2 separate regions of the Homo sapiens genome follow, and region 1 is linked to region 2. The links are contacts of gene promoters, found by promoter capture Hi-C in blood cells and fetal thymus (Javierre and others, 2016). All regions are on one chromosome and are shown on one strand. Each heading gives the region's core, a stretch centred on a gene start or on the middle of the fragment in contact. The rest is flanking DNA. Distances are from core to core; before and after follow the strand shown. Region 1 has its middle 63 kb from the start of CD200R1L. Region 2 holds the start of CD200R1L-AS1 (CD200R1L antisense RNA 1).

Region 1 (4,539 bases), core at 1,362-3,861, 110 kb before region 2:
TTTTTACAGTGGCTGGTACTGGTTGTTCTTTCCATGTTTAGTGCTTCCTTCAGGAGCTCTTTTAAGGCAGGCCTGGTGGTGACAAAATCTTGAGAGCTTTTTATTGTGAAAGAGCATGGAATTTCATCAAATAATTTTGTTTGCCTCCATTGAGATAATCATGAGATTTTTTTTTACCCTTCATACTGTTAATTTGGTATATTACATTGGTTTTTGTATGTTGAACCATCCTTGCACCACAGGGTTAAATCCCAAATGGTTATGGTATATGATTCTTTTAATGTGCTGTTGAATCCAGTTTGTTAGTATTTTATTGAAGATTTTTGCATCTATCTTTATCAAGGATATTGGCTTATAGTTTTGTTTTCTTGTGGTGTCTTGTTCTGGTTTTGATATCAAGGTAATGCTTGCCTCATAAAATGAGTTTGAAAGTGTTCCTTCTTATTGAGTATTTTGAAAGAATTTGAGAGCAATTGGTACAAATTATTTATTAGATGTTAGGTAAATCTTTCCAGTGAAGGCATCAGGTCCTGGGCCTTTCTTTGTTGGGAGTTTTCTGATTCTGGTTTCAATCTTATTGTTAGTTATAAGTCTTTCTATTTCTTCATGATTGAGTCTTGGGAGGTGATATGTTTCTAAGAATGTATCCATTTCTTATAAGTTATCTAACTTGTTGGCATAAAATTGTTTGCAGTAGTCTCCTGTAACCTTTTTATTTCTGTGGCAACAGTTGGAATGTTTCCCCTTTAATTTCTGATTTTATTTATTTATTTGTCTTTTCTCCTTTTTTTCTTAGTCTAGCTAAAGGTTTGTCAATTTTGTCTTTCAAAAAGCCAACCTGAGTTTCATTGATGTTTTTCTATTGTTATTTTATTCTCTATCTTGTTTCCTTCTGCTGTAATCTGTATTATTTCCTTCTTCTGATAACTGTGGGTTTAATTTGTTTTTATTATTCTAGTTCCTTGTGGTATAGAGTTAGGTTTTTTATTTGTGGTTTTTCTTCTTTTTAATGTAGGCATTCATTGCTATAAACTTCCCTTTTACCACTATTTTTGCTGTATCTCAGGAGTTTTGGTATGCTGTACTTTCATTGTTGTTTGTGTCAGGTGTTTTTTATATCCCCTTTTGATTTTTTTTTGACCCACTTGTTTGAAAATGCATTATTTAATTTCCACATATTTATGAATTTTCATCAACATACAAAAATCAGTTGCATTTCTATATACTAATAAACTATCTGTAAAGGAAATGAGGAAAACAATCCTATTTACATTAGCATCAAAAAATACTTGTGAATAAGCTTAACTAAGCAAGTGAAATACTTGTTCACTGAAAATTACAAAACATTGATGAAAGAAATTAATGAAGACACAAACAAATGGAAAGACATTCTGTGTTCATGGATTGGAAGGCTTAATATTGTTACAATGTTTATACTACCTGTTATGGTTTTCATGTTTGTGTTCCCTCCAAAATTCTTGTTGAAACTTAATGCTCAATGCAACAGCATTAAGAGGGGGGCCCCTCAGAAGTGATTAAGCTATAAAGGCTTCACCCTCATGAATGAACTACTGACTTAATAAAGAGGCAGACAGGGACCCCCTTTGTCCCTTCTGTCATGTGAAGACACAACATACTTACTCTGCAGAGGATTTAGCAAGAAGGCATCGTCTTTGAAGCAAATAGTAGCACTCATAAGACACTGAGTCTACTGGTGCCTTGATCTTGAAGTTCTCAGCCTTCAGAGCTGTGAGAAATAAATTTCTTTTGTTTGCAAATTACTCAGTCTGTGGTATTTTGTCATAGCAGCAAAATAGGCTAAGACACTACAAAGATCTACAGATTCAATTCAATTCTTATCAAAATTCCATGACATTTTTACAGAAATAGAAAATCAATTATAAAATTCATATGAAACCATAAAAGACCTTAAACAGCCAAGAATAAACTTGGAGGCATTACACTTCCTTATATCAAAATATACTACCAGGCTACAGTAATTAAAACAGTATGCTACTGGCATAAAGACATCTATAGACCAGCATAACAGAATAGAGATCCCAGAAATAAATTCATGCATATATAGTCAACTGATCTTCAACTAGGATTCCAAAAATACACAATGGGGACAGAACAGTCTCTTTGACAATTGATATTGGGGAAACTGAATAACCCTAGGCAAAAGAATAAAATTGGGCCCTATCTTATGGCCTACACAAAAATCAACTCAAAATAGAGGGTGGGCAAGAAATAGAGGATAGAATTTCTTTGTTATTTCACTAAAAATCCCAAATTCACCTTCAAATGTGTTGAGGAATTATCTATCTGGAGACAAGAATCTGATCCTGGTGATAACTCTGTAGTATAGAAAGTTAACAAATGTGCACAATTATATCCATCTTTTTCATACAAAGTTATCACTAACCATTCTTTTTGTCTAGCCAAACTGAAACCAGTATGAACCACTGGAAGTGGGTGGGGAGAACGCACAGGAAAATCCAAGGGCAGGATTATTGTGTGGTCAGGAAGATGTAAGGAGAATTTATGGGCAGAAACTTCAGCCTACTGGTCAGCACTCTTTATCTTTACCTTTGCAACCCATGTAGCAACCCTGAGTTTGCAGAAGGAAAGAGCATATCCTAAATTGCTTTAGCCAAAAAAAACAAACTGAACAGAGATGAAAAGAGATATTAAGTAAATATTATGAAGTAGAAGAGGCTAATACAATAATTTAGGTGAAGAATTATTTGTATTATGATCTTTTTGAGCATGTTACTTTTAAATACTTTCTGCCTCAGTGATTTCTATGTTAAAGTGCATATCCCTGGAAGGAGAGATTGTGTGTAACTCCTCTCATAAGCCACACAACAAAATACCAAAAAATATACATAGACACACATACAAAATGCAGTAGAAGATAAGGAAAATTACTTATGAAAAGGTCTTTCTTTCTATGCTGGTTATTCTTCTACCGTATCATTAATTGACTTAGGATAAGTTTCTTAACCTTTTCGAATCTCTACTTCCTTATCTATAAAAATAAATATAACTATACATGCCTCATAAGAATCATTCTGACAGTATCTGGGACATAGCTCAATCAATTACAATTGGATCTGAATCCTGGGTCAAATATACATGCTTCTCTTGAAATAAGTAAATGTATAAAAGCACAAACCAGAAAATTCAGTCATTATCACCTCAACTGTGCAAACAGGAAATGCTTCTATTTAAGTTGCTCATGAGCCAAAAATACAACCATCTAAGAGAGCAGGGGATTTCTCACCAGTGCTAATGGAGCAGAGCAAGAGAAGTAAAATACCATAACTAGGCCTATTATACAGTGGAAGAAAACATAGAGGCAAAGATAAGAAAAAAAAAATAGAAATAACTCCCTTTGGAAGATGGCTTCAGCTTTTGGGATACTGTTCACATTTTTTTTCATAGCTGGTGAGTCTGTTGGCCAAGTTGCGGGGATGCTGAGGGGTATTGGGCGAAGTAGAGAGGAAACCATAATTAGAAAAATACATTAGAATATTTTTCCACTAGAGCTTTTCCACTAGTCCTTTAAAATGCTCAGTTTAAAATAGCTCAAAGAGTGAAAATGCTACTTTATTTTAATCACTATGTTTTAAAAAAGAAAGATAATGTCTTAATTACTTATATTTCTGCCAAAATTATCTTTGAAAAAACATTTCTTAATAAAAAAATAAAAAAATGCCACAGGATTTTAAATAAAAATGGAGATTTCTAGTTTGACATGGTGAATTGAATAGATGTATCGTGTCTATTCTCTCCTGAATGGCTATTAATATGACAATAATAATATTTAAAACATATAGGCCTAAAGGAATCAAAATGTCAGGAGAGAAGACACAGGGGGTTAGGAAACATTAACGTATTTTGGAGGATGGAAAGCTTGATCACCCAGGAGAATAGAGGAAGCTGAACGTGTTTCTTCAGGAGGAAACAGAACCAAGCTGCAAAGGCTCAAGAATTGGGTTTTGCAGAAAGTGAGTGCAAAGCCCAGGTCTGGAATTAAGAGAATTGTTTGAAATTCTGTGTAAGAGGTGGTTAGACCCTGAAAAGTCTCAACATTCCCTTCCAAATTCTCAGATTTTAGATTTATTCCCTATAGAACATGAATCACAAAGAATTTAGTCTTACAGACAATGGGAACAGAAAGATTCAAGAGGAGATATGGGGCTGAAAATAGGTGGATTAAGTGGAATCTATATATTTACCAGAGAAATACACCCCCAATCCCTGCCAGCCCTCATTCCCTGTCCAGGTCCCCAAATACCCCAGATAGGCACACATACCTCTTGGGACAAGATTTTGAGCAACTTTCAAGGCAGAAACTGAATGACCCTTGCGAATATGCTACAGATTCAAAGAAAATTTCAGGCATGTAAACTCTCAAATAAGGAGAAAACCAGTAAAGAAGCTAGGATTCTGGAAACATGGGCTTCAATAGAGAAGACAGCTGAGGAGATTTCCCAGGTAAATATCAAAAGAAAGTGCCAGAATAAGAAATCA
Region 2 (4,159 bases), core at 1,168-3,667:
GGCAATGCTCACAGGACAGAGAAAATTAGTCCAGGGAGAAATTCAGGGATTAAAGCCAAGAACACTTTTTTTAAAAGTAAGAAAGATGACCACAGACCGGAGTTGGATGGTATATAGCATAAAAAGCAATTTGGGATTTAAAAAGGAGACTGGAGCCAATACTTATAGAGGCATCTGCTTCACATACCTTAATCATTTTATCAATCTGCTGAGGCAGGTAGGTGTTAACGTTTAATCTATTTTACAGTCAAGAACATTGAAACTCCAATATTAAGTGGTGGAGACAAGATCCTAACTCAGATTGTTCCACAACATCATTATCTCTTACATCTTATTTTTGTAGAAAGTAGAAAAGGGGAAGAAAGAACAAGAGGAAGAAAAGAAGAAGAAGAAGAAGAAGAAGGAGAAGGAGAAGGAGAAGGAGAAGGAGAAGGAGAAGGAGAAGGAGAAGAAGAAGAAGAAGAAGAAGAAGAAGAAAGAAGAAAGAAGAAGAAGAAGAAGAAGAAGAAGAAGAGGAAGGAGACATAGTAGTGGAGTTGTTCTAGGACCAGAAATCTCCAGAAGGAGCAGGAAAGTGTCTGCAAAATTAGTGAAGAATGACATAAAATTCACTGGAGGAATATCTGAGAAGAAGGAAACTTCTTCACCCAAAGAGGAAGACAGGGTGACCTAAGAAATGGGTCTCGTAACTAAGTTTCTGCTGCAGAGTCAGGAAAGTGTGTGTGCAGATAGGAGAACTGCAGTCTCAGAGGGAACAAAGGAACATTTTTATAAATTAGACCAAAGCTATCATGTATAGTTGAGAGGTCCATACAGCTATTCTACATTCCTGCTGAAGGGCCTGAAGAAAATTGGTAGGGATTTTTCACTGGCTTGAGACTGACTGAAGGGAAAGTGTGCTCCCCTTCAACTTCACCTTACTCCTATTACCTTTTTTGGGACCTCCAGTTCTTCAATCTGGTACTCTTTGAGCATGAAGAACGAGCATTGAGGAATGATATTATGTACTCCTGGAGGGCAGGAGGTTGGCCTTCTTATCTGGTATGTTTCTTAACAGCATGACATATTGGATGAACAAAAATTACGTTTAAAATAAATATGTTGAACAGACAACTAAAGTCTCTTCTAAAAATAAAATTGGCTTCAGGTTCTATAGTTCTACCTCTGTGGTCTCATTGCACAAACATATGTTTTAGATCTTAGGCTATTAAAGACATCTGTCCTGACCTATTATTTATAACCAATGGAAATGAAAAATGCAACCCAAAAGCTTAAAGAATTTGCCTGAGGACTATAAATGGAGCACATGCAAGCTGTTAGATGGCCAAGTTGAGGACCCAGAAATAAGCACCAATTATTCAATCAGACGATGTGGTTCATGACCCCATAGGGGACTCTTTCCTTCCTGCTGTGTAACTCAAAGGATCTGAGACTGTGGGCCCAGACTAAGTCAGAACTTCAAGTGTTGTTTTCTTCTTGTTTTCATTCTGGCTCAAAATCCAGAGGATGTTGAAGCATGGGCAGCCTCCTATCTCTCTCTTTCCAGGAGTAGCTACAACTCTTTTGAAGTTTGTGATGCAGGTTAAACTGTTCTGTTCCTTTGCCTAGGCAAAGAAAAGTACTATCAGGTGAAATGAGATAGCTGTTGAAATTCAGTATTCACATGTTTCCTAGCTCAGAATGCTGAAAAATAAAGTATGAAAGATTCCAATCAAAGGAAGAGATTGAATCACCTTCTGTTCCAGATGGGGCCTCACAATAGTTACAACTGCTTGTTCTGGACACATTTGTCCATCCTCGCTTACAGATGCAGCACCATCCATGAAATGCTTGAGACATCCAGGAGGTGGGCAGTGGATAAACAGAATATATTCATTATTGTAACTGAGAATGCTTTTATTCCCCCTGTCTCTCCCACAGAGTTGGTATAAACATATAAAAGACTCTTGAGTTTGAACTCGTATGTGCCCAGTCTCAACTTTAACAATTTATTTCCCTTTATTTCATAATTAAAAAACTGAAAAAAACTAAAGGTCTGACAATGGTTCTAAATTTTTTTCCTCTTTCAGGACAGTGATAGGGAAAAAAACCCACTAGAATTTGTTAATGAAATACTGCCATTATAGAAACCTAACTGACCAAAAACCAGAAGATCTGTGTTCTAATGCTAGGTTTTAGGTACTTAGCTTTCCCACACCTTAATTTACTCATCTGTAAAAGGAGGAGTTTAGATTAGATAATCTTACCTAAGTTACTTCTCCTCTAAGATCCTATGTTTCTGTGGCATCTGGGTATAACTGCAGAACTTTAGAAGAAAAGTCTGGACCCAAAGGTAGGGGTTTTAGATCTGACTTTGTACATTTTGTGGTTTTATTTCCTCATTTCTAAGAAATGGAGATTAGTGTCTATCATTTGGTGACAAGTGTAATGTGAGATTAGATATTTCCTTGTGTAAGTAATTTGCAAGTAAAATGGTCTATACAGATGGAAAAAAGTCCCCTTCCCAAGATATTAAAGCATATTAAAAAGCTAGAGTAATTAAGCAAATGTGGCATCTATGCAGGAAAATGCAAATAGATTCAAAGAATAAAGTCTAGAGAAGACTTATGTATATATTGACAGGTAGTTTATTGAAGAAAAATACACATAAGCAATACACTCATGAAAAGGTAATATATATTTCTACTAATCTAATAAATACAAATAAAAGCCACAATAAGATAACATTTTGTTCTCATTAAGCAAAAATGAAATATTTGCTATCAAATCTTGGTGAAAGTACAGGGAAATGGGTTCCATGATGCACTGCTGATGAGGGAATAAACTGGGACAGGCATGTGGAAAGGTAATTTGTTAGGGTTATAGCTTTTAATGTGTATATCCTAAGATCAGTAATTACTTTTTTCATATCTACACATGTACCTAAGAAGGTATGAACAAATATATTCATTGCAACAGTATCTATAAGAGCAAAATATTTGAAATGACTCACTTGTAACTCAGTAGGAAGGTGGTTAAACAAAAGGTAGCACATTCCAGCCTGACCAACATGATGAAACCCATCTCTACTAAAAATACAAAAATTAGCCAGGCTGTGGTGGCATGGTGTCTATAATCCTAGCTACTGGGGAGGCTAAAGCAGAAGAACTGCTTGAACTCAGGAGGCGGAGGTTGCAGTGAGCCTAGGTCGCGCCACTGCACTCCAGCCTGGGTGACAGAGGGAGACCTTGTCTTAAAAAAAAAAAAAAAAAAAAGTAGCACATTCATGCTACAGAGTGGTATACAACAGTTACAAAGAATGAGGTGGCTATCTGCAAACTGGCATGGAATTCCCCCTTAATACACACTGTAGAGTAAAAAGCTAGTCATAGAATAATTTGTATTATTTATGTACAAATACACACTTGTGAAACTATATAGCTCTATAGCACACATATGTGCTAAGAAATTCAGAGAAAAGAGTTCTGGAAGGATGCACAGTGAACTGGTAATAGTAGTCACCTTTAAGAAGGGGAGTAGTGATTAAGGAGACATAAACTTTATCCATAGAACTTATTTTTTTAGTGAGATTGTATTCATGTATAACATAAACATTAAAGAAATTTTTTTTGTTTGTTTTTTAAAGGGAGATAAGACAATAAAGTTGGCTATTTCCCATTCAGCCAAACTAAAATCTAACAAGAATTATTTTCCTCCAAGCCACATTATGTAAATTTCCATGCATACCCCATGTGCTAGAATACCACGCAACTCACTGAGTGTGAACCCTTCAAGAACTCAGGCTATTACAGGCCTTATCTTTTGATTTACCCAACAATGCAGCCAAGTGGCTATAACATTTGATTTCTAGAGTATTCAGAAACTGTTACTCAGATTCTGAGTAAAGGTAGTTCTGGGATTTAAACTATTATGGAATTGTTTCATCTGATTGAACTTGCAAGCATAAAGTCACAGAAGACAGTGGTGTTTCTCCAGAGAAATAATTATCCTAATCATTACTGTTACTAGTGTACTGTTGTGGAGTTGCTGTTTGCCTTTACATATAAAGTGCTCTCTTAGAGAAGACTAGAATTCCAAAGCCCAGCTAGAATTCTTCCACTGAATTTTTAAAAGACTATCTATTCCATCAGAAGTTAGTAATTTGAGAAAACACAAATAC

What was found. Contacts are between HindIII fragments. The CHiCAGO score rates a contact against its expected background, and 5 or more counts as called.
Region 1: a contact is called between a fragment that was not itself captured here and the fragment with the promoter of CD200R1L-AS1 in region 2, in 2 of 17 cell types (naive B cells and M2 macrophages). The highest score is 5.3, in naive B cells.

Annotation. Positions count from the first base shown.
Region 1 is chr3:112,907,152-112,911,690 of GRCh38, reverse strand. No RefSeq gene overlaps it. Among named protein-coding and RNA genes, the nearest start is that of CD200R1L, 63 kb to the right of the region's middle. The HindIII fragment of the contact is 2,618 bases long and covers 1,303-3,920 here.
Region 2 is chr3:112,800,736-112,804,894 of GRCh38, reverse strand. CD200R1L-AS1 (CD200R1L antisense RNA 1) reads right to left here and starts at 2,417. Exons shown (of 3, transcript NR_149027.1): 1 at 2,247-2,417. The HindIII fragment of the contact is 7,448 bases long and covers 1,273-4,159 here.